Linked DNA regions of Homo sapiens: regions 1, 2, 3 and 5 are each linked to region 4. Evidence: promoter capture Hi-C in 16 types of primary human blood cells and fetal thymus (Javierre and others, 2016). All regions are on one chromosome and are shown on one strand. The core of a region is centred on a gene start or on the middle of the fragment in contact, and the rest is flanking DNA. Distances in the headings are between cores, read along the strand shown.

What was found. Contacts are between HindIII fragments. The CHiCAGO score rates a contact against its expected background, and 5 or more counts as called.
Region 1: a fragment that was not itself captured here is called in contact with the fragment with the promoter of ZBTB14 in region 4 in 1 of 17 cell types (fetal thymus); the score reaches 7.4 in fetal thymus.
Region 2: the fragment with the promoter of NAPG here is called in contact with the fragment with the promoter of ZBTB14 in region 4 in 2 of 17 cell types (total CD4 T cells and non-activated CD4 T cells); the score reaches 5.8 in total CD4 T cells.
Region 3: a contact is called between the fragment with the promoter of CHMP1B here and the fragment with the promoter of ZBTB14 in region 4, in 1 of 17 cell types (naive CD8 T cells). The highest score is 7.5, in naive CD8 T cells.
Region 5: a contact is called between the fragment with the promoter of MPPE1 here and the fragment with the promoter of ZBTB14 in region 4, in 5 of 17 cell types (non-activated CD4 T cells, total CD4 T cells, total CD8 T cells and 2 more). The highest score is 15.1, in non-activated CD4 T cells.

Annotation. Positions count from the first base shown.
Region 1 is chr18:262,662-267,682 of GRCh38, reverse strand. It overlaps THOC1 (THO complex subunit 1), which reads left to right. Exons shown (of 21, transcript NM_005131.3): 2 at 2,153-2,226; 3 at 2,320-2,380; 4 at 3,591-3,657. Among named protein-coding and RNA genes, the nearest start is that of THOC1, 2.9 kb to the left of the region's middle. The HindIII fragment of the contact is 529 bases long and covers 1,825-2,353 here.
Region 2 is chr18:10,524,207-10,528,917 of GRCh38, reverse strand. It overlaps NAPG (NSF attachment protein gamma), which reads right to left and starts at 2,891. Exons shown (of 12, transcript NM_003826.3): 1 at 2,760-2,891. The coding sequence starts at 2,815. RefSeq lists a silencer at 2,499-2,748. The HindIII fragment of the contact is 5,497 bases long and covers 1-4,711 here.
Region 3 is chr18:11,849,141-11,853,945 of GRCh38, reverse strand. CHMP1B (charged multivesicular body protein 1B) reads right to left here and starts at 2,533. Exons shown (of 1, transcript NM_020412.5): 1 at 1-2,533. The coding sequence starts at 2,434. The coding sequence ends at 1,835. The region is part of intron 5 of GNAL (G protein subunit alpha L); the gene reads right to left. RefSeq lists a silencer at 1,822-2,116 and enhancers at 2,123-2,172, 2,441-2,680. The HindIII fragment of the contact is 8,099 bases long and covers 658-4,805 here.
Region 4 is chr18:5,293,605-5,298,739 of GRCh38, reverse strand. ZBTB14 (zinc finger and BTB domain containing 14) reads left to right here and starts at 3,014. Exons shown (of 4, transcript NM_001243702.2): 1 at 3,014-3,088; 2 at 4,739-4,768. RefSeq lists enhancers at 1,806-1,965, 1,683-2,368, 3,057-3,743, 3,744-4,431 and silencers at 2,176-2,595, 2,676-3,615. The HindIII fragment of the contact is 2,257 bases long and covers 1,612-3,868 here.
Region 5 is chr18:11,906,924-11,911,933 of GRCh38, reverse strand. MPPE1 (metallophosphoesterase 1) reads left to right here and starts at 3,617. Exons shown (of 11, transcript NM_023075.6): 1 at 3,617-3,733. It overlaps LOC101927511 (a long non-coding RNA gene), which reads left to right. Exons shown (of 4, transcript XR_007066296.1): 4 at 1,072-1,385. RefSeq lists a silencer at 2,825-3,224. The HindIII fragment of the contact is 5,797 bases long and covers 2,227-5,010 here.

The DNA of each region.
Region 1 (5,021 bases), core at 840-3,339, 5.0 Mb after region 4:
TGGTTGGGTCCATCCTCTCAGCTCGTTTAGTGGGGCAGGTGTCTCGAGAAGGGGAAGGGGAGCTGCTGAAGGGGGAGGGTGGGAGTGGTTTCAGTCCAAAGACCTGGCTCCCGCCCTAGCCTTCTGAGCTACCAAGTGCTTGTTCCCGCCGTCTCTTCACCACCCCTTAACCCACCGTGTCTAACTCCTAAGCGATCGATGAGATCCTAAGCGGGAAAAGGCAGATAGATCACCTTGGGAAGGGTAACCAGATGCTATTTTATTCTTGCTCAATGTGGAAGGGTGGTTTTGAGCATTTGGGAAACACTTGACAGATCACTTTCTCATTTAACTATTAGAGTAACACTGTGAAGTAGGCTAAGTTGGTTATTCCTGGTACATGAGGTAGAAGCTGACACCCCCCAAAAAGTTGTGACTTCAGTGGTTTTTCTGACTTTAGACACTCTGTTCTTTTTATGTTGCTCGTCACAGCAACGTAAGTATGAAGAACACTTTTAAGTTGCCTGACTCTATTCGTCTCTAGCATTTGCACCAACATTTCTCAGATATTCGGCTGTGTTTTGGTAGTTATAGGGATGCCAGGATGAAAATTGTGTGAAAGAAAAATTCATCCTTTGTAGTAAGTAGTTTTCTTGTTTGCAGGGTTATATATATATATATATACATATATATACGTATACGTATAATATATATATACACACACACACAGTGTGAGGTTTTTTTTAAATGGATTATATTTTGTGTATGTCATCATAATCATTTTCTTTGTGTGCGTTTTGCTGCAATCTCTGGTGCTTTGAAAGCCTGCTAAGAGTAACTGTTAGGACTATCCAAGATCATATTGGCGGCCGGGCGCAGTGGCTCACGCCTGTAAATGCAGTACTTCGGGAGGCCGAGGCGGGCGGATCACCTGAGGTCAAGAGTTCAAGGCCAGCCTGGCCAACATGGCAAAGCCCCGTCTCTACTAAAAATACGAAAATTAGCCAGGCGTGGTGGTGGGCGCTGTAATCCCATCTACTTGGGAGGCTGAGGCAGGAGAATCGCTTGAACCCGGACAGCGGAGGTTGCAGTGAGCCAAGATCATGCCAGTGCACAACACCTGGGCAACAGAGGGAGACTCCATCTCAAAAAAAAAAAAAAAAATCATACTAGCCCTGAAAAGGACCATGAAATTGGAGATCATCTAGTTCAGTGTTTCTCAAGCTTCTTGTGAAATGCAGATTCTTGTTCAGTAAGTGTGGAAGGGAGCCTGAGATTTTGCATTTCTACCAGCTTCCTAGGTGATGCCACTGTAGCTGCTGCTGGTAGTAAAAATCTACAAAAACCCTCTTATTTAACTGGTGACGAAAATGAAGCACAAAGAGATAAAGGAACAGGCCCCAAATTACTCAGCCTGTTAGTGGCAGAGCAAGGAATGGACACATTTAGGATAGATCTAATTCCTGTGAGGTAATAAGATGACTTTCTAAGTGTATGTGAGTGTTCATAGAATGAATGCCTTTTGCAATATTTTTGTCTTTAAGTTATGATTACTTTAAAACAATCTACAGATTGTCAGCATGGTTTTATTGAGTGCTACGTGTCAGGGACTGAACAAGATACCTCCAGGAGGCGAGACCTGACATGGGTGTGGGAGAATGGATAGAATTTGGATGAGCAGGTAGGAAGAGCAACATGAATGTGTGAATACAGTAGAATGAGTTTGATATAAAGTGATGAAAAATGGCTAGACTTTAGTGCAAAGTATGTGTTAGGGAGTATTGGGAATTAAGTTTGGGTAAATTGGGATAACATTATCAAGGACCTTGAGGGATCTATGAAGCTTCAAAACTAAAACGGGCAAATAAGGAGCCATATGGAGATTTTTTTTTTTTGTAAGCACAATACTCATGAATGTGATATTTAAAGAGACAGAAATATCACCTAGAATGAAAAAGTCCAGCAAGGAAGCTCTTGCCAGATTTAAAGTGATGAGGATCCGTATCATGAAGTAGCATTGGAATAAGGATTACTGAGAGAATGACTGATAGGTAATTTTTCCCAGGTATAAGCATTTTTTAGTTAGTAAGATACACTATCAATGAACGATATATTTTTCAGCAAATAATAAGCAAAATCTTTACAATTATTTGCCATTTTAATTTTTTTTTAGAAGTCTACCAGAGAGGCCTTGAACAACAAAAACATCAAGCCATTGTTAAGTACCTTCAGCCAGGTACCTGGCAGGTAAGGCATTGATATCTATGAAAAATACTTGCCTCAATCTTTATACATACCCTGAGCTGTTTGAAAAATGAGGATGTCTTTTGTTTTTAATAGTGAAAATGAAAAAAAATGTACCCTTGACCAAGCTTTCAGAGGTATTCTAGAAGAAGAAATTGTAAGTATGTTTTTCCATTGTTAAAATTTTACTGACAAATTAATAAACCATGTTATTTAAAAATTGCTTTTTTTCTTAGAATGGATATTTAAACATCTTTTTTTAGAGTAACCTTTCTGCTTTGTAAAAGTTGACTTGATGACTATACGATTTCTCTAAGGATTTTGATAGCACAGGTACATTTTAAGGGTTTGGTTTAATAAATGACAAGAGCCCTCTCCAAGTGAGATAAGAAAAGTTGACATGAGGTCTTAGGAAGAACTAGAGGTGAAGGTGGGCTCTCTCACTTTCCTGTATAAGCAGTGATACATCCTGTAGTGGCGCAAAAGGTCTAGTCCAAGAATATTTAGCTTAGGAGCTGGGATTCCATTCCCTCATTTTCCTCTGGCATCCTCCTCATCAGTAAACTTACATAAATAACTGAGGGCTCTCCAACTTCGGTAGAGAAGTCTAACCATGAAAAATCTGAATTTGTTTACCAATAATGGGGCACCTGAATGAAAGGAAAAGTTTCAACAGTTTATTCTTGGTCAAGCAAAGGTTGGGTCCCCAAAAGCTAGATTCCCTTCTATTGGCCATAGTACAATGTCCCTTTCTCTCAGACAAGTCTGATTAAAAAATGATTCTTTCCTTTTCTTCAGACTTAGTCACTTTTCCATTGTGAGGCATTGGGCAAGTTCTTTTCCTTTTCTGTGCTTCAGTTTCTTTTGTGAGAGGGGAAATACCGTTCTTTCAGTGTTGTTGTGTGTAAAACAGCACTTAATGAACACTCAGTAAATGCTGGTTATTATGATTTTATAGAACCTAAGCACTGTCTTCCTTCTATTAAAACCACCCCTCAGACACATGGGTGTATTAGTAGTTAATTCTCATAGCCCTGCCTTTGCCCTGTGCCACTGGCTGAGTTATGGCTTCAGCACTTCTGTCCTTGATTAGCTTATAGCCTTCATCTTGCTAATATAACCATTTTCTTGAGACCATTGGATTTTGAGTGAGTTGCCTGTTACTTGACATACTTCTACGACTATTGATTCTATATGTTACTGTTAAATTTTGGTAACTTCATATTAGAAAATATTGTTTTCTATAAGAAATATTGTATTCCATATTTCTGATAGTCAATTTAATATCAGAGTACATGTTTTTACTGTTAATCGAGTTTAGTCTGAACTCTTGCCCCTAAATTAAATTGTTTCTCCTCTGTTGGTAGATAAATCATTCATCATGTGAAAACGTTTTAGCTATTATTTCTCTTGCTATTGGGGGAGTAACTGAAGGTAAGTATGGTTCCGTTTTGTTTTGTTTAAAGTAATCTTGGACATGACATGCTTTATTTAAAACGTCTTCTCCCCATACTTCTCCACCTATCTGATTTTGTTTATTCTTCAAGTTCTGCCTGACTCCCAACTTTGCCAAGAAGTCCCAGTTGAATTAGTTCACTCTTATTTCTCATCTCTATTATGCAGTGCACATTTTGGCACTTCCTTTGTTCTCCAGTTGTTTTGTTCATTCAGTAAATTTTCATTGAGCATCTACTATGTGCCTGGTACTGAGCTAGGACCTGGAGATTCAATGGTGAATAAAACATATTCCCCTGCTTATGTGGAGCTAATGGAAGAAACAGATGTATGCATGCCTTACTATGGTGTAAGTACTATGGTCGAAGTGGGAATGAAGTGTAGTTAGAGGGAATAGAGCCAACATGGCTCTCTAAACTTCAGTCTAAAGGAGTCAGGAGAGGTTTTAGAAAAGAACATGAGAACTAGAATGTGAGGTATGAAGAATTTGTTAGACATACTAAGAAAGGAATAGCTAGAGAATTGTGTACAGCAGGAGGAGGAGAGGACAATGAGAATGATGAGGAAAGAAGCAGGTTAGGTCCATTTATAAAGGGCACTGGGTGCCATACTAAAGAGCAGCTGCAGGCCGGGCGCGGTGGCTCACGCCTGTAATCCCAGCACTTTGGGAGGCTGAGACGGGCGGATCATGAGGTCAGGAGATCGAGACCATCCTGGCTAACACGATGAAACCCCGTCTCTACTAAAAATAAAAAAATTAGCCGGGCGCGGTGTCGGGCGCCTGTAGTCCCAGCTACTCAGGAGGCCGAGGCAGGAGAATGGTGTGAACCCGGGAGGCGGAGCTTGCAGTGAGCTGAGCTCGAGCCACTGCACTCCAGCCTGGGCAACAGAGCAAGACTCCATCTCAAAAAAAAAGAGCAGCTGCAGATGAATGATTCCATTTGAAGTGACTGCTGGCAGGAAAACTGGGCAGGAGCCTGTTAAAATGGCTGTGTGTGATAGCTTTAGAAGACTTCGGGTAAACAATGCACATAGTACACAGAGCCTAACACAAAATAGGAGCTCGTTAAATATATGCAGAAAGAAGAAATAAAAAATTAGTTTATCAGCATTCTTCTTTAACCAATTTGGTTAAAATACTCATTTGATTAATTCAAATAATATATGTGAAAACTCCTTTTTAATCTGTAAAGCATTATTCACATTATGTGTTATTTTGATGCTTCTATAAAAACTGGCACACACCTCCCAGTATAGGGGCAAACTATTTTATGAACTTAAGTTCATAAATTCACTTTGTTAAATGTTTATACAAGCTGCCTAATCATTCATTCATTAGGCAT
Region 2 (4,711 bases), core at 1,642-4,141, 5.2 Mb before region 4:
GAACTACGTCATCATTAGAAAATGGAGAAAAATCAAATATCTCCTAAGCTCCTGGCCCATTTTTCCTACCACCCACTGAGTAACTCTGTCTAGCAGCATTTCAAACTAACACTTCAAGCCTGAACTCCACACCTCCCCGCCCCACCTCCCTGCCCCAGACCTACCCACCAATCACATCCATTAATCTATATCCCCTATCTTGGCTGAAGGCCTCTCCCACTCGTCTCCCAAGTTAGAAACCTAGGAGTTAACTCTTCATCTCTACATGCAGGCACCTCATTAAAGCATGTCAACCTTACTGACAAACATCACCCAGTCCTACCCCTGTACTGTTATTTGAATTCAGGCCATCACCACCTCTCCCCTGAAGTCGACAACCCACTAACATGTCTGGCAGTACCTTCATGGGAGAGTCACCTTTCCTCCTCTTCCATTCCCCACATCCTGAGCATATTACCTTTTCCTTGCTTCCTATCTCTACCATACCACACTGAATACTTCTATTCTAGCACTGAACATCCTATTTTTAGTCCTCTGTTAACTTGTCTGCCCACCTGTGAATTCTAAGCTCTTGAAGAAGGGACCACTTTTGGTTACTCCAGTATCCTCTGTGGCTGGTACAGGTACACAGAGACAACTTTGTAAATGTTCGTTTACTGAATATGTCAAAGTCCATTCTCCACACTGCTGCCACATTTCTTTTTCTTTTCCTTTTTATTTATTTATTTTTTTGATACAGAGTCTTGCTCTGTCTCCCAGGCTGGAATGCAGTGGCGCGATCTCCGCTCACTGCAACCTCCGCCTCTAGGGCTCAAGGGATTCTCCTGCCTCAGCCTCCTGAGCAATTGGGATTACAGGTGCGCGCCACCACAGCCGGCTAATTTTTGTATTTTTAGTAGAGACAGGGTTTCACCATGTTGGCCAGGCTGGTCTCGAACTCCTGACCTCAAGTGATCCACCCGCCTCAGCCTCCCAAAGTGCTGGGATTACAGGCATGAGCGACAGGGCCCAGCCTGCTGCCACATTTCTTTCACCAAAAGCAAATCTAACCGAGTCCACTGGTTGGATGCCTACAATAGCCATGTGAGAAGCTGTCCCTTCACAGTCTGGCCCCAACTCTTTTTCACTCCAGCTCGTCCCCTGGCACTGTGACTACACTACATTCACTGTTCCCAGAGCACATTTTCAGGCCCGCGTATAATACATACTACAGGTTGCGCACAGAATCTCTTTCACAAGATTTTCCCTCCGTCTAAAACATTCCGTATTTTTCAAGCTCTGCTCACAAATCATCTCCTCCTCAAATTTTCTCAGGCAGAATAAACTTCTCCCTCTGGGTTACCTATGCACAGTTAATACAGCTTTTTTGTGGTCCCTATTCCACACACTATTCTTATTACAAATTTTGCGTTTGCTCCCACTAGAAAGCAGAATGTTGTGGGAACCTCCTGCACCAGGAGAGCCCCAGCACCTTACACGCTGACTGCCTCGAGTCATGTGATAGAGCTTGAGTTTTTCCACTGTTTGAAAACTGGCTCTGCGATCTTTCACCTGTGCAGTTGGGGGCAAGTCGTTATGAGGCTTCCCTGAGTCTCATTTCCTCTTACGAAAAATTAGAATCTCTATTTGGAAAGTTATTGTGAAGATCTCAGCTTATGAAATTATGTATGTGAAGCACCCACCACAGAGCACAATGCTGACTTTTTCTTTTCTTTTTTTTTTTTTTTTTTGAGACGGAGTCTCGCTCTGTGGCCCAGGCTGGAGTGCAGTGGCGCGATCTCGGCTCACTGCAAGCTCTGCCTTCCGGGTTCAGGCCATTCTCCTGCCTCAGGCTCCCGAGTAGCTGGGACTACAGGCGCCCGCCACCACGCCCGGCTAATTTTTTGTATTTTTAGTAGAGACGGTTTTCACCGTGTTAGCCAGGATGGTCTGGATCTTCTGACCTTGTGATCCGCCCGCCTCGGCCTCCCAAAGTGCTGGGATTGCAGACGTGAGCCACCGCGCCCGGCCCACAATGCTGACTTTCTATTAACTGTAACTGCCAGATAAAAATGCACTGGAGTAATGAAACGGGGGGAAGAGGCTGCCAAAAGGATGAATTAAGGATTATCAGTTCAGTCCCACAAACATTTGCAGGGTGCCTACTACGTACTGTACCAGAGGTGGCAGGACATACACATCAAAGGACGAACGAAGCACAGTCCCTGCCCACAGGGACAGTAAAATGCCAGATGACAAAGGTTCACCGAGGAGTTTTTGGGGTAAACCTATGGTCCCCTCCACACAGGGGGCTCTTCTAGGGCGGTGGTTCTCAACAGAGCGATGTTGTTCCCCAGATGACATTTTGGGTTGCCACAAATGGGGAAGAGATGCGACCGGCACCCAGCAGGTAGAGGCCAAGGATGCTGCTAACGAGCCTCCGATGCACAGACAGCCCCCACCACAATCTTCAGGAGCAGAGCGCCCAAGTAGAGAAGCCCTCGCCCCGCAGCACTGCGCCGAGTCCCCGCCCACACCGGCTCTGGGGAGCGGACTTCCGGCGGGGTGGACCCACGGCGCTTCCCGAGGCGCCGCAGAGCTGACCCCGACCCCGGGAGTGTGACCCAGAGGACACCGAGCCCCGGCAGCCCTGCGGGCACCAGCGCGCCGAGGCCCCTCAGCCCTGAGCCCTCCCTCCCGCCCCCCCCGGGTGCTAAGGCCGCGCCAGTGAGAGACGGACCCGGCGTCTACACACAGGCCCCCGGAAGGTTCTCACTCACTATTTCTCTGCTTTGGCGAGGTGTTCCAGCCCCTCGTTTATCTTCTGAGCCGCCATCTCCACAGTCAGGTCTCTGACGTGGAGAGAGGGTGACCCTGCCTCTTCCTCCGGCGCCAAGAATCCGCCCAAATAGGCGTGGGAACGCCGAGGAGGAAGCTGGTGCAGCGCGACAGTCGAGCGGCTACGGAGGGCCGGAGGGCCCAAGCCGCTGCGACGAAGCGGGGCTGGGAGCCTGCCGGTGCGCCCCGCAAAGAGACATTGCGCAGGCGCAGCGCGTCAAGGCTGGCCCCACCTAGGGCATCTAGCGCAGGCGCGGTGAGATACTGATGGGGCGTATTCTTTCATTCAATATTTGCAAAGCACCTAATATGTGTCAGGCACTATTTTAGATGCGGGAAGATCAGCAGACAAAAACTCCCGCCCTCTTGAAGTCTTGCTTTTTCATTAATGTGAAACTGCTGTGGATCCTGTTTGTAGGGTTAATTGGCTTTATAATTTATTACATCTGAAGTTTCTCTGTATGACAGATAGAATAGTATTCTTCTATCCATTCTGCCTTTTGGGTATTAATTGTATGTCAGTCAAGAAACGAAACAGACTTGTAAACCCTGATTACTGTCAAATAATCCGCGCCCAACCCAAATAATCGCTCTAATATTTCAAGCCGTGATAAGTGCTCTAAATGGGAAGTTGAGGGATCTAAAGTCGCGTACAGTGGTCTGGTAAAAATAGTAACCAGTAATACAGTTGGCTTCATTCATAATTCATGGTGATTTCAATATCCACATGGATGATTCCTGCAATGACTATACAGCCTCTCAGCTTCCAACCTCCTGTGATCTTTCCCACACTAGCGCAGCCACACATTCCTGGGATCACACCCTTGACCTTACTCATAACTGTGTACCCTCCGTAGTGTCAGTTTCAAACAGCTCACTTTACTTCCCCTTTCCATTCCAGCTCATACCTCCTAGTGCTAGTAATTACTTAACCTTCACCAGATTCCTCACCTTTCCCTATCCCTCTGCTCTTACACGTCCTTCTTTTCCCAGCATAAATTCATGTCCCATCATTTTAGTGCGTATACTCTCAACGGCCTTGGCTCCCTCTCCCTCCTTTCTCCAAGCCAGGAAAAACCCCAGCTCTCCACCTACTCTGGAACTGCTCTTGAGCAAGTGAATTTGACTGGAAAAAAACAAACGAGGATGCTAACATTACTCATTTTAATGATCATAAACATTAAGCCGACCTTTGGTGCTGCTGAGCAACTCTCCTATGTTTCCATGGTCAAATCACTCACCCACTCACTTGGAGGGCTGTTCACACCTTCCTTCTCAAAACTCCTACACAATCTCTGCTTGCCTGCCAACTCTCACTTATTGTTGAATATGAAATAACTATTCGAAGAGTTCTTCCCTTTGGCCTCACCACACAATCGATCGATCTTCCTGCATCTATTTGCCAATCAATATTTTGCATTTTTTCTAGTGCCAACAGGTGAACTGGCCTTGGATTTTTTTCTCTATCCTCACTTTCTTATTTAGTACCCACACACAAGACCCCTCTTCATTTGGTTGTCTAGCCTGGGCTTCCTTTATAGGAAGGCAGCAGAATTTCAAGAGAGTGAAAGTGGAAACTTCAGGCTTCGTAAGGCCTGGACTCCCACTGCACATTACTTCTGCCACATTTTATTGATGAAAACATGTCATAAGGCAAGTTCAGATTCAAGAGGTAGGAAAATAGAGGAGTGTAAAATACTTTGGCCATGACTTCCAATTCACCACAACTCTGGGATGACTGATTAAATATAAAAGGACTGTTACCAGTGGAAAGCCTTATGTTTTCAAGTGAGTTTAGATTTATTAACCACCCAATACCATCACCCTCTAAAACCATTGAAAGTGCCCAGAAAGTTTTCTAAGCCTATAACCTCCTCCACATTCTCCCTTATTT
Region 3 (4,805 bases), core at 1,284-3,783, 6.6 Mb before region 4:
CAGGCTGAGGCAGGAGAATCACTTGAACCCGGGAGGTGGAGGTTGCAGTGAGCAGAGATCGCGCCACAGCACTCCAGCCTGGGCAACAGAGCGAGACTCTGTCTCAAAAATAAAATAAAAGAGGGGTTAAGACTCATGCTGTCTTCACACATGGCCCTGCACAACCATGTGGAGGACAGGAGGGATATTCTTGAGAGATGCTGGGCAGACAACTAACAAGTGTCCCTTAAAGCACACTTCTGAACAATGTCCAGTCAAATATAAAATAACTTAAATATGAGGGTCACTCCTCATCTGCACGCACCTGTTACACTTTTTTTTTCCTTACTCATTTACACTGGGAAACATGTTATAATAGTGAATAGTTGGTTATGAATCTTTCAAAGAACTTGGAAGGGCCCCTATAATTATTTTCTGAAACAATGGAATTCTCTTATGGAAAAATCTTCCAGTGAAGGAAAGGGTAAGTTAAAAAAAACTTGAATTAACTTAGGTTAGCATGCTTGCCAAGGCAAAAGCAAGTTGCTTTTCTCCATGTTTCGAGGCTATGAGAAAGCGGTGGATACATGCTTTACTTTTCAGCCAGAAAATACGCACTGCCATTCCTGAGAAGATGGCAGGCAGCACAGCTGGGCTCTAGCCTTAAAGACTCAAGCTTTCTCCTTCCTTCCAGTCCTACCTCTTTACTTCTCAGATTTCCAGCTGGCTGGATGTATACATAAATGACTTGCATGGCTAAGTAAAACATTCCAGCTTATATTTTCAAGGATTTCCAAGAGTTCTTGCTTTTGGACAAATTAATAAATGCAAATTAGAACTTAAAACGCAGTTCTAATTTTATTTCTATTTTTGGTTGTTAAAATCAAAACAAAACCTACACACACACAGTCCTAGGGTTTTCTCAAACGAAATCAACAGTTCTTTGGCAATGTTAAGAGTGTGTAACATGACTGCCATGCTAATTAGCATAATTTATAAGACTTCTAATAGTGTTGAAACAGGAAAATAACTATAAACTTGTTAGAGAAGTTCGTTTGAAAGACACTGTCAAATGTCACACTAAGTCTTTTTAAAAACTCAATTTAGTAAGTAGAAAATATAAATGAACAAATTTAATTTTTCCAGATAATAAAGGAAGTTATTCGGCATTTTTCCCAGTTACGCAAAGACAATTATCACGTGAAAAATTTATAGAATGTAAGCAGTAAGAGAGTATTATGCAAAAATATCCTAAGGTAATTTCAGTATAAATTATAGGACCACATTTATTAATAATATACGTTATGAGAACAATCATTTGCAGTCTCACTGTGAAGGCAAAAAAAAAAAAAACAAAAACCAAAACCCAAAGGATAAACAGAAATAGCACAGTCCACCGAATACACTGCATGGTGTTTATAACTGTATAACCAAACTAAGTAATCTTTCCCCTCTCTTTAACTTTTATGCACCACCTGCCATTCTAGATACTATCAATCACACTAAATAATAATAAAAACCAACCACCTTCAATCTGATCATTCTGGGCAGGAAACTGAATACAGTTTTGACCAGATCTTCGAGAAAGATTCATATACACGAAATTAACTAGTTCTGTTAAAAGGCTGCTATAAAAATACCATCATTACGAGCTATACAGAACTTTAGAATCCAGCTAAGAGTGCAGAAATACTGAATTTCTTAATTTATGTGGAGGGGGCTGTAAACCCAAAGGTAGAAGGGCATTTCAGCATTCTGGCGTGTTCAGAGTTTCTAGGGTATAGTATCTCTCTAACACACAGAGAGCATTTCAAAGGGTGGCTATGGCCAGGAAACCTCAGAGCGGGTTCTGCCGTCACACTTGATCCCGAAGGCGGGCCAGTCTCTGAGACAGTTCATCCTGCTCCGCCGAAGCCACGCTCGTGCCCACGGAGCCGGTCTGGCCCTGCGGCAGCTCCATGTTGAGGTCGAGGCCCGCCTCATCTGCCATTTCCTGGAGCAGCATATCCACTTGGTTCTGGGGAGTGGTGAGCGTCGTCGTGCTGCTCATCGTGTCTTCCATTTGCTGCGTCTGGACGTCCAGAGTCTCAAACTGGTGCTCGAATTTGTCCATCAAAGCAGAAATCTTCTCCAGATTCATGGTCTTCAATGTCGCATCCATCGACTTAACCACACCAGCCATCGACTTGGTCACCTTGCCCATCGTCACCGCCGTCTGGACCCTGGCAGCCACTGCATCGACTCGCGCACTCATTCTCAAGAAATTCACCGCCTGGTTCTTCTGGCGGATGGCATTTTCGGCGTGTATCCTCGCAACTTCCATGTTGCCCTTCTGAATGGCCTTTTTAATTTTGGCCTTTTCGGCCTTTTCCTCCTTATCGCATTTTTTGGCACTCCTACTCAGTTCTTTGGCCGCGAACTTCAGGTTGAACAGGTGTTTCTCCATGTTAGACATAGTCGGACGGCTCCTTTGGGTCGGCGGCCCGGCTGAGAAGCGCGCCGAAGGCAGAGAAGGTAAGGTAAGTCCGCTCCCGGCCGCCGCTCCTTTGTTTTGGTCCCACTTCCTGTTTCTACTGTGAGCGGCGCAGGTGGTGACGTCAGAGCCCAGCGCCAAAGGCGGAGCCTGCGGGACGGAAGGCGCCGGGGTGGGGCCTGTGGGACGTAAGACGCCAGGGGCTGCGCATGCAGGGGGATTCTGGCTGGACGCTCCGGCGCTGCGGCGGGGAACGCTCGCTTCCTGCGCTGCGTTCTACCCGGTTTTTAAAATTCTAACGCATTAGTCAATTCACAAAAATTAGTGCCCCCACGCACTTTCCTAGTAATAAATCTACCGAAGTAGACAGGATCTGTGGAGACCCGCGTGTAAAATTACCCACGCTCCAAACTTGGCAGGCTTTATAAAGGGTGACTGGCTAGCGGGCTAAAAACCAGCCAAACATCAGCTAGGTCTTCGCACTAACGCTTGCTTTATTAGCATGGGTAATTTCCACTTTCTCAGGGGAACTGGAAACCATGGATACATTAAAAACAAAAACATTAAAACACATTAAAAACAAACGGGTCATTGACGCGTCTCCATCTTTGACTACAATTTGTGCTAGAGTTCTGTAATATCCTTTTATTGCATTGAGTGAAAATAATCTTCAAAACTGTGGCACCACCAAATTTATACTTTGTCTGGAAGTTCAGCTTCTAGGTGAGTTGCCAGCAATTATCCAAAAATCGTCCCGTGGTTTAGTAATAAAAAGACCCATCTTTTGCTGACACCATTCTGTCTTTTTGATGTTTTATAAATATCCAAGGAACTTCACTCACATTTAAGTTTGACAGGCTAAACTGTCATTTTAAATTATGCAGGCAGAGTATGTTGAGATATCAGGACCCACACCCACGGGCATACATCAAAACTGTCACTATGTATTACGCCCTTTAAAAATGCTGGCTTTCAAATGGCAGCAATGTGTGCTGTCACTTTTCTCTTTAGAAAGATTCCTCCGATACAGCAATAACAATGTGAGAAGACCAAATCTGCCCTAATGAGGTAGGCTGAAAATGAACTCTGAGAGCGAATTCTGTTTAGAGATCATTTTAATCTAGCAGCCTGCCACCTCGCTTAGCTTCCTGTGATAGCTTGCCAGTCAGTTTCACAACACAAGACCTTCTGAAGACATAGCTCTGATGTTTTCACTCTCTTGCTCCAAACCCCGGGCATGGAGGCTAAACCTGCTGTGCAGCATGCTGGCTCGTCTTTCGCGCCCCTCCACCTCCGCCAGTCAAAGCAAACCGCAGCATGGAATTTGAGCATTATTTGCGTCATTCGGCCAGCGGGGAGAATGTGACTGACGCCCGGTCCTGTGGCTATGCTGTTCCTGTTGCCTGGATTTTAGTGTCCATGCATCTCTGCCTATTGACACCCTGCCAGTCCTTCAAAAGCCACCTTCACCATGGAGCCTCCCCAGGACTCCTCCTCTGTGTGGCCATACTACAGGGCACATTGCCTGGCAAGGGGTCTGTGTGTATAGGTCACCTGTTACAGTGTGAACTACTTGGATGCAGACACTGATTCCTTCCCCTCTCCATGGAGCCCAGCAGGCGCTCTGCACACAGCAGCCACTGAATCCAGATGGCGTTGCTGAATTTAATTGTATTTCAGAGGGGATAGGATGTTACCCTAGTTAGCAGCTTAGCTATGGTTCCTTTTTGCCCCGCAAAGCAGTAGAACCCTTTTTCCAAATGAAACTTTTCTAGAAATGGAATATAAACAACCAAAAAAAAGGGGAAGAAATCTGTTCAAAGTGGATATAGAGAGCTTAGGCCCCCTACTCTGCTCACCCTCCATTCCACTCTTCCCTTCTTTTAGGTCCTGGTTTTTCTTGGAGTTTGCAAACAAGTTTCTTATCCAGCTTCCATGTCATGCTCCATAGTTTTCTTTTTTCTTTTCTTTCTTTTTTTTTTTTTTTTTTTTGAGATGAAATCTTGCTTTGTCACTCAGGCTGGAGTGCAGTAGTGTGATCTTGGCTCACTGCAGCCTCCCCCTTCTGGGTTCACGCGATTCTCCTGCCTCAGTCTCCCGAGTAGCTGAGATTACAGGCACACGCCAGCACTACCGGCTAATTTTTGTATTTTCAGTACAGCTGGGGTTTCGCCATGTTGGTCAGGCTGGCCTCGAACTCCTGACCTCAGTTGATCTGCCCACCTTGGCATTCCAAAGTGCTGGGATTATAGGCGTGGGCCACCGTGCCCAGCCCATAGTTTTCTTAATGACAAATTCTGACTAGGTGAGATGGTTTGGAATATAATCATGAGAGACTCCGATAGATGATGAT
Region 4 (5,135 bases), core at 1,765-4,264:
CAGCAGAGGAGGAGGCGCAGAACAAAGGCTGCTCTCAAAACCTCTACTCAGACCCGGCCCACTCTCATCTGCTGGTATCCTGCTGTTTCAAAACCAGCCAGAGGGCCCAAGGTCAACATGAGGGAGAAATCAACCTCCCCCGCCTGTGAGACATAATGTTTCCAAACGGTCCCTTACTGGGCTGCTCTGTAACCACATCAGACCCTGGCACCCGGGACTGCACACTGCGGGCCCCATGGCCTGGGCCTCACAATTCTTAGAAACAGGTTCCACTCAGGAGGCCATGGGTGTCCCAAGTGAGGAACAACGTGCTCCAAATGTCACCCATCAGAGTTGTCGGAAAAGGAGGAAAACTTTGTCAAGGACCTTGGGTCAGTGCATTTCAGGAAAGCCCTGCCCCCGCGTTGACGCCACAGTGTACTTTTACAAAGCCCCTTAGTATCAAATTCAAGGTTGTCACTTACTGTCCGCTGATGTTTATTGAAAGCCTCTTGGGTGCTGGGAAGTGCACTTTTGGGTGGCGACACAGGCGAGAAGCCAGGCTTGGGTCAGGCCTTTCCTTTGTGGTTTCCCATCCCTCCACCTTCCCACAGAGTTGTCCCTTTAATTTAGACTCATCCCCACAACCCCTGTGAACCAGCAAGGGACAGCCAGGCAGAGCCCAGGTGACATGAACATAAAACAAATGAGACAAGAGGATTCATTGATACAAAACCAGGATGTCAGGAACCGTCACTTGAGAAATGCATTCTAGTGCTTTAGAACTCTTGTGAATTATGTTATCGGGTTAGTGGAAACGTGGGAAGTCTTTTCCTAGCCATATGCGAAAAGATTGTCTTTACACAGTAGGCAGACCAAAAATACACGCAGAATGAGTGGGAAACCCCATATGTGGTATGGGAGAAGGGGGAGCGCCAGCAGCAGATGCGCCATGACTTGAGTACTGGCCGTGTCCACACATTGTGCTAACTGCAGTGGCTGCTTTACTGCTTGGTGACGCAACCCTATGACAGAGTACTATTATTATCCCCCTATAAACACACAGCATCCACAGGATTGAAATGCAACTTCAAGAGCTACGCAAACAAGAATAAAGCGAGTACACGGTATCATGTCTGATGAGTGTGAACTTTCGTGGCAGAAGACTTGGTTCTGGTTCTGTCCAGGCCACTGGAACCCACTATCTGTGGGTGCAGGTGATTTTCCATCATGGAGCTAATACCTTAGCTGGGCATTATTTCACTTAATCCTTACAAGTGCCTTATTAGGTGCTTTCCATAGCTCTCCTTCAGCTGAGGTTTAGAGAAGTTAAACAATTTACCCAATATGTGAACTGGATATGTCTGACTCTACAACCGGTCTCTTCCATCCTATTTCCTCCATATAAGCCGTAACTTGGGTGCTTTTGTGAACATCAAAAAAGATGCGTATAAAGTCGCCTTGGGGAACGTTAAACCAAAGTCAATTAACATTACAAAATCAACTGAGGCCATATAGAACTTCCTTTAGAAAATTAACACATCCAATCATCATATTATTTCCCAAATGTTTACTTAGGTGCCTGTTGCAAGCACTATCTTATGTCATCTTCAATAAGCCCAAGAGGAAGCTTCTGCTCTAATCTTTAGATATTAAATTACGCGTTTCGGGGAAACTTCGCGTGTGAGGTAAAGCAACATGAGCGACTCTAAGGCGGCGCGGCATTGCTGTCCGGCCTCCTGCATCTCGGTGAGCAGAAAACGCGGGAGCGGGAGGGACTTCCCAGCTCCCGACGCCAGACACAGGCACAGCCGCCGCGTCAGAGGGAAGGCGACGTGGTTCAACAGCAACGGAGCCATTACTGGCGCTGAGCAGGGATGTTAAGGACAGAGCCAAGTTATCAGAGCTCTCCGAATCGAGTCCAGGGTCTGGACTGCCACAGACGGGTCGCCGCCTCCAGCCCCTGGACTTTTCCTTGGAGTGTCCGGGCGCGGACCTACTAGCTCCGAAGCCCTATGGGTGATCCCTTTCTGCTGGGCAACTGGGGTTGCGCTTTACACTACAAATCGAAGACGTCGCTTTTTCCATTTGTTCTGCAAGTGTTTATTGTGCACCGTCCACTCCCCCACAAACTCAATGTGCCGGCGGCAAGAGGCAAGACCGCAGACCCGTGGGCGCGCCTCCCGGTGTCGGCCGGTGTGCGCGGAGGGCGAAAGTGGCCGGGGCGCCCGCTCCGAGACGCGGCAGAGCCCCGCAGCCTCAGCGCCCGGCCTGCGCGCGCCCGGGGGAGGCTCTGGCCCACGCACATGCACACGCACGGGAGCGCTGGCTCCCGCGTCCCCGGCGCTGCGCCGGCGCCGGGCGCGGGCGGAAGCCCACGAACCAGGGCGGGAGGGAGCTTGAGGCGGGGCGGGTGTCCGCGAGCAGCGCTCGTGCTTAAGTTCCCTGGCTCCCGAAGCCCCGCCCTTGCCCCGCCCACTCCTTCTCCCGCGCGCGGGCTCCGCGCGCCCCAAGCCGCGCGCGTGCGCGCGCGTGCGCAGGCCAGGGCCCTCCGGGGGCGGCCCCGTAGTCTCCAACGAAAGCGTCGGCAAGGGCCCGGATTAACCCTTTCTTTGCTCGCCCACTTAGAGACCCGGTCGGGTTCCGTGCCTGCGCAAGCCGGCGGCGCGCCTTCCCCCCAGCCCGCACCGCGCATGCACGGGAAGGGGGGGGCGGTGGGGGTGTTCACGGCCGGCTAGACATTCTGTGCTCGTGCAGGAGGAGGGCTGCTACCATCAGGGACGTGCACGATTTCCCCCACCCCGCCCCCTCCCCAAACTCCAAAAAAAAATCCAAAACACACTGCCACCCACCGTGCCCCCGCGCCCCGAGCCCCTCCGGTCCCGGCCTGCGTTTGCTAGCGAGCGCGGGGAACCCACGGCAGTGTCTGTGCCTGTGCCAGGCTGCAGGTAAGCGCGGGCCAGGGTGCGGAAGGGGCTGGGGCCGTCCGCAAGGCGGGCGCGGGGGCGGCCGGCGGCTGGCGGGGCGGCCCGGAAGACGCGCGTTCTCGCCGAGCTCTGGGGCACCAGCCAGCTCCAGGATGTGCGGCGGCCGCCAGCGGCGCGGCGCGGTGCGAGCGGGGACGGGCGTGGGCCAGGGTTGGGCGTGGGGCCGGGGCGCCCCGGGGGCCGCGCGGGCCGGCGAGCGGGCTCGGGGAGCGGCCAGGCGGCGGCGGCCCCGCGCGCGCGCTCGCAGAGCCTCGGCGGCCGAGTTCATGGCCGCCCCCGCTCGCACCGCCGCAGTGCACCGCGGTGGGGGTGGGGACGGCCCGAACCCAGCGCGGAGCGCGGCCCGCCGGGCGCCGCCCCTCCGAGCCGCGGGCCCCGCCGCGCCGCCTACAGCCGCCGGCGGAGGAGGGGGCCGGGACCCAGCGCACGCACTCCCGGGTGCGCCCGCGGAGCTTGGGTTAGCCGGCCGCGCGCCGCCCCCGCCCCCGGCCGCGGGAGGGCGGGGGAGGGCCCGGCGCGAGCTGGCCGGGGAGTGCGCGGGGCGCGAGCTCCGGGCTCGCGGGCGGAGCGGGGCGCGGCGCGGCGCGGGGCTGCGGAGCCGGCCGCACGCCCGCTCCCGCTCGTCGCGCCGCCGGGGCCGCCGCGGGCCGCAGTCCCTCCCTGCGCGCTCCGAGCCGCGGTCCCAAGCCTGCGCTCGACGTCTGATTATGAAAGGGAAAGTGGCCCTTTCACCACCTGGCTCCCAGGCTGGGAGCTTTTGTCTGGGAAGGAGTGCAAACGGCCTCCTCCACTCCCCACCTCCCAGGCCCAAAGAAATTGAGAGGGAGGACTCGATACGCCTTGAGGGCTTCTTGGGTCTGCGCTTGGCTCCCTGCTTCCTCCCGACTCCGAAGTTGCAAGCTTGCAACAAGGAAGTCGTGCAGCCGCCATTGTCGGGCTGCCCGGGGCAGGGGAGGCGGCTGCAGCTGCTTATGTAAGTTTTTGGCTTTGCGGGAAGCCCGGCTCCCTGCACTGTAACGCGGCTTAGCGCGCCCGCAGTTTGGAGAGCAATTAGGAAGGGGCAGCCTTATTATGAAGGTGGTGTTGGGGCTACGTCTTTTCCTACACCTGCCTACACAGATGCTGGCAACAGCTGTCTTCCAGTTTTGACTCACCTGAACTGAGCAATTGGACATCTCAATGGCAAGGGGGGCGGGGCGGGGAGGAGGCGGCTTTGGACACACATGGTCTCTCTTCCAGGTCTCATACATCTTGAGAGAGAGAGGGGAGAGGGGCGAGTGGCCAAGTACACACTAGCCAAAACAACAACAACACATTGATATGTTGTCATAGCTAGTCTAAGGCCACTCCTCTCTCTGGTCCCATGCACTTTTATCCCACAAGCCCTAGGACGAGTTAGTGACAACAGTAGTAAGTGTCACAGTGTAAGGTTTTTGCTGGGCTGCCTAGCCTCTGGATGATTACAGGCCTGGGTGCTTCTAGGGAATAGAGAGGCAGAAACACGTAGAATGATCAAGTCAGAATCATCTTTTGGAAATGTTGCCTAACCTCAAACTTCAGATGAGACATCCCGCTTCTACGCTGGGTAGCTCGGTGTGTTCACTTTTCTTTAGAAGGAGCTTATTATGGGTTTCAAGGTGTTGGTCTCCAGGTTGGAGTCTTGTTCCATGGTTTTTGTGTAAGACTGTTACAGCCCAGTCCTTTGCTCCTACCACACCAAACAACTTATCTGTGTGGTCACTGTTCAGTAGAGGAAACTTTTTGTTTTTCAGGATATGGGTCTGCAGGATGGAGTTCTTCCGGTAAGAGTTAAAACTCACAAAAAAGCTGAAATTCTTTCACCCTTATTGTAGGGATAGAGGTAAAAACACCTGGATTTATCAAATACAATCTTAAAAACAAACGTGTATGCTATTAATACATCACACAGGTGCAGAAAGAAAAAGCAATCATTGTTCCCTCTCCTCCCATGTTACCTGTTGGGTTTATGTACTTCTATAGCTTTATTTGTAAGGTATATACTTCTATAGGTTTGTATGAGCCGAGAGAAAAATGTAGAGGGCTAACATACCCAGCGGGAAATGGGATAGGTGTAGGGGGCACGGTGCACTTGTTTTTTTCTATATCTGTGTAGCCATCAATCTCTGTACAAATATGGACATGAGCTTA
Region 5 (5,010 bases), core at 2,368-4,867, 6.6 Mb before region 4:
TAATCCCGGCCACTCAGGAAGCTGAGGCAGGAGCATGGCTTGAACCCGGGAAGCAGAGGTTGCAGTGAGCCAAGATGAGCCACTGCACTCTAGTCTGGGTGACAAAGTAAGACTCTGTCTCAAAAATAAATAAATAAATAAAGTCAGGAATAGGTCATGCCATGCTTTATTATATCCGTGATGCTTTATTATATCTGTGACTTTGAAAATTAACATTATTTTACTAACCATACTCAACAATGCTTTTTAAAAAGGGATTTATGACATATAATTCTTTTGGAAATTAAAATGCATGGTATAATTCTATGGTTGGTCAGATTACACTTCAGGTGTAAATGAATTACCTTAAAAATGTATTTCTTAGGTTTATGTTTTATGGACTTAATAAATATTTTATTACAATTTTTTTTTTTTTTAGACAGAATCTCACTCCGTCACCCAGGCTGGAGTGCAGTGGCACGATCTCGGCTCACTGCAACCTCCACCTCCTGGGTTCAAGTGATTCTCCTGCCTCAGCCTCCCGAGTAGCCGGGAATACAGACGCATGCCACCGCTCCTGGCTAATTTCTGTATTTTTAGTAGAGCCGTGGTTTCACCATATTGGCCAGGCTGATCTCGAACTCCTGACATTGTGATCTGCCCTCCTTGGCCTCCCAAAGTGCTGGGATTACAGGCGTAAGCCACCGCACCCAGCAGAAAAAAATCTTAAACTTACAAAAACATAGAGAGAAATATAGCAAATGCTTGTATTAGTTTTCTATGGCTGCTGTAACAAATTACTACCACTTTGGTGACCTAAAACAACCCAAATTTACTACCGTACAAGTCCTGTAGGTCAGGAGCCCACACGGGGCTCACTGGGCTAAAACTCAGGTGATGGCAGGACACCTGAGCATCTGCAGGATCATTCATTCCTTGCCTTTTCCACCTTGAGAGGCCACCTGTGGCATTCCTGGGCTTGTGGCCCCTTCCTCCATCTCCGGAGTCAGCACCAGCGGCCACATCCTTGTCAGGTTGAATCTCTCTGAACTTCCTTCCAGTGTTACGTCTCTTTCCAATTCTCATTTGCAGGTAAAGGTTCTCGGAAGGACCCAATGAGACTGGGCTCACTGGGATAATCCAGGATCATCTCCCATCTCAAGGTTCTTCATCGCATACTTGCAAAGCCCCTTTTGCCATGTCAGGTAACTTGTTCACAGGTTTGAAGATTAGAATGTGGGCATGTTTGGGGGGCATAATTAGGCCTAGCACAATGCCCATGTACCCATCTCCTTGCTTAAACATTAAACACTTTGCCAATATTGTTTCTCCTATCTCTCACTTTGTTCTCTAAAAAACTCCAGGAATTTGTTATTAAATTTTATTAAAGCAAATCCCAGAAATAATATAATTTGCCTGTAAATATGTTAATATGTTTCTCTGAGGCCTTTAAAAATCATAGCCACTATGGTATTATCGTAATAAAATTACCTGAAGTTATTTAATGTCACCTAACATTCAGTCCATGTTTAAGTTTCCCAATTTTTTTTTTTTTTTTTGAGATGGAGTCTCACTCTGTCGCCCAGGCTGGAGTGCAGTGGCGTGATCTGGGCTCACTGCAAGCTCTGCCTCCCGGGTTCACACCATTCTCCTGCCTCAACCTCCCGAGTAGCTGGGACTACAGGCACCTGCCACTACACCCGGCTAATTTTTTTTTTTTTTTTTTTTTTTTTAGTAGAGACGGGGTTTCACCGTGTTAGCCAGGATGGTCTTGATCTCCTGACCTCCTGATCTGCCCGCCTCGGCCTCCCAAAGTGCTGGCATTACAGGCAAGAACCACCGCGCCTGGCCGCCAATGTTTTTAAAAATGCCATTTATTTATGTAAAAGTTTGTTTGTCTTAATCATGACCCAAACAAGGTCCACAAATTGCATTTGGCTAATGTGTCTCTCAAGGTCCCCCCACCCTCTTTTTTTTAAAGACATGGGGGGTCTAGCTGTGTTGCCCAGCCTGGAGTGCAGTGGCTATTCACAGCTGTGATCATAGCTCACTACAGCCTTGAACTCTGGCCTTAAGCAATCCTCCCACTTCAGCCTCTGAACATTTATTTTTGAAAAAAGAAATTGGGTCATTTGGTTTGTAGAATTTCCCACATTCTGGATTTGGCAGATTACTTCCTGGTGGTGTAATCTAATGGGTTCATTTGGCCCCTGTATTTCCTTTAGCCTGTGATTAGTGTTATAAGCTTAACTGGTTCTAGTTTCCCTTTCTTTGTTAGTCAGAGAGAATACTTTAGAGGTGAGGCTGCAAACAATCCACGGTGCCATATTAGTGTGTTTATGGAATCAGGCTGTCCCAGTTTCGATTATGTCAAAGTTGTTCACCTGATCATATCTGAAGATATTACAATATTCTTAATAATAATAACCATTTACCGCATACTTATTGTATACCAGGCATTTTGCTGGCTGTGTCCTATATAATTCCTCAAACCACATCTCCGTGTATTAACCACACTCATAGATTTGTGAAAATGTACCAGAATTGACTGGTTGGAAGGCTCTATGTGGATTATTACTCTGAGCATGTTTACTTCTTGAAATATGAAATAATGGCTCCTGCTTTTAATATACAGGCTTATTTTGAGGATTTTTTGAACGGATGTGAGAGCACTTAGAAAACTGGAACGCGCCGCGCTACACCATTAAAATTAGTAACATCAGTGAGAAAAAAGCAAGTGCATAATAAATATTATAGTTATCCTGATTGTCTCCTTTATTCATCACACACTTCCTAAGCACATCTCTGGAGGGCACTTTCCAAGGCTCCGGGGGAGGAGAGGAAAGAGGCGCAGCCAGGCCTGGTGGGTCCCGGAGGGGCAGCGCGGCGCGGGAGGGGAACGGGGAGGCACGGCCTGGCTGCCACCGCGCGCGGAACCCGGGAGCGGCTCCGGGGCTGTCAGCTGCCCGCCTGGCTCCTCCAAGGCCTGGAGCTCGGACGCGGGCTCTGGGGGCTTCTGGGGCGCGGAAGCGGGCTCGCGGGGAGCAGTGGCCGCCCCCGGCCGCCGCGGTGGCTGTGCTCAGAAGCCGGCCCTGGCGTCAGGAGGCCGGGCGCGCGGCGCGGGGCGCGAGTTCCCCTGCCCGCCTGTGCGCCCCGCAACGGGCCTTTCCTGGGCCCTAACGACAGCTCGCCCGTGCTTCGCCCTCGCAGCTCTCCTGTGTCCCCAAAATGCCTTTCCCGCGTCCCCCGCCCTTCAGCGGTGACTGCCCAGGGGACTCTGTAACGCGACACTCAGACTGCCGAGCCTGCCAGGCACTTCGCGGAGGGCGCTAGGGGCCGGGACGCGGCCGCCGAGCGTAGGTTCCGGCCTTTACTCCGAGTTGCGCACGGAGCCCCAGCTGCGGTTGTCCGCTCTGGGGATCACAGGCCGCGGAGACCCGGGAGCCACCCGCCGGGCCCCTTCAGACGACCCGCTTCCGCAAACCGGCCGTGGGACTCCGGCGCCGGGCGGACGAAGCGGCTCCGGGAAGACTCGGTCTTCCCCGCCCGCCTGAGGTCGCCGGGGCGGGGCTTCAGTGACAGGCCCGCGCGCTACCGCGGAAACAGGAAGTTGGCTGGGTGCGCGCCGGCTCCGGCTGCAGTTCCCGGGTCCCTCGGCCACCGAAGCCACCCTGCCCTGGTGAAAGGGCTCCCGCACCGCCCGGTGCTCCCCATCTGCCTGGCGTTGTGCGCAGAGCTGGAAAGCATGGCTGTTGTATGTATTCTTGCGCCCGTGTGACAACATTTAAACTTCTAAAAACGGAACCTCCTTCCGTGTTAGGATTGCAAGTTAACCTAGGAAAAACAGCATTCTGCAAATTATTTGCTGGAAAATCTCGGTGACTTAAGGCCCATGTATTACTTTGCAGGGGTCTCTCACTCTAGTTTGCTGGTGTAGATTTTTTAAAAAATCCATCTTATCAAAAAATACCGTTTAAGGTGGAAAATTTCAAATGCAAGTCGCAGTTGATGAGATTGCAATTAATATATTTAAGATAGTGAATTAGAGAAAAACTACAGGTCAGTGCATATTAAGTATTTTTTTCATATTTTGGGGGGATTAGATTTTTAACGATAACTTTGAAGTTAAAAATTAAAAGATAGGCTGGGTGCCGTTGCTTAGGCCTGTAATTCCAGCACTCTGGGACGCTGAAGTGGGAGGATGGCTTGATCCCAGAGATGCGAGACCAGCCTGGGCAACATAGCAAGTCCCCCGCCCCCACCATAACAACAAAAGTACCAAAAAAAAAAAAAAAAAAAGCCAGGTGTAGTGGCACGCACCTGAAGTCCCTGCTACTCGAGAAGTTGTGGGGGAAAGGATCGCTTCAGCGCAGGAGTTTGGGGCTGCAGCGAGCTGTGACGCAGCCTGCGGTTGACAAAAAGTCAAAACTCTATAAAATATTTGAAGGGATTAATTCTGAGCCAAATATGAGTGACCATGGCTGGTGACACAGCCATTTGGAGACCCTGAGAACGCGTACGCAAGGTGGTCGGGGCCCAGTGTGGTTTTATGCATTTTAGGGGAGCCATGAGTCATCAGTCAAATACATGTAAGATTAAGATGTACATTGGTTCGGTCCATAAAGGTATGACAGCTGAGGAGGTGGGTGGGTCGGGGGTTTCCGGGTTATAGGTAGATTGAAAATTTTCTGATTGGCATTTGGTTGAAAGATTTATTATCAATGGAAAGGAATGTTTGGGTTACAATAAGAGGCTGTGGAGACTGAAGTTTTATCATGCAGATGAAGCCTCCAGGTAAGTTAAGTGTCCAGCATGTTAAATGCTGGTCTGCTTTTCCTGAATTCTAAAAGGGAGGAGGATGAAATGTGTCAAGTTCCACCCCCACTTCCCATCATGGCCTAAACAAGTTTTGCTTAAAACAACCTAAAACAAGGTTAACTCTGGAATGCCCTTGGTGGGGTCCATGCAGATGGTTGAGGGGTCTTAGGATTTCATTTTTGATTTACAATGGGCGGTGGAGTGAGACCCTAT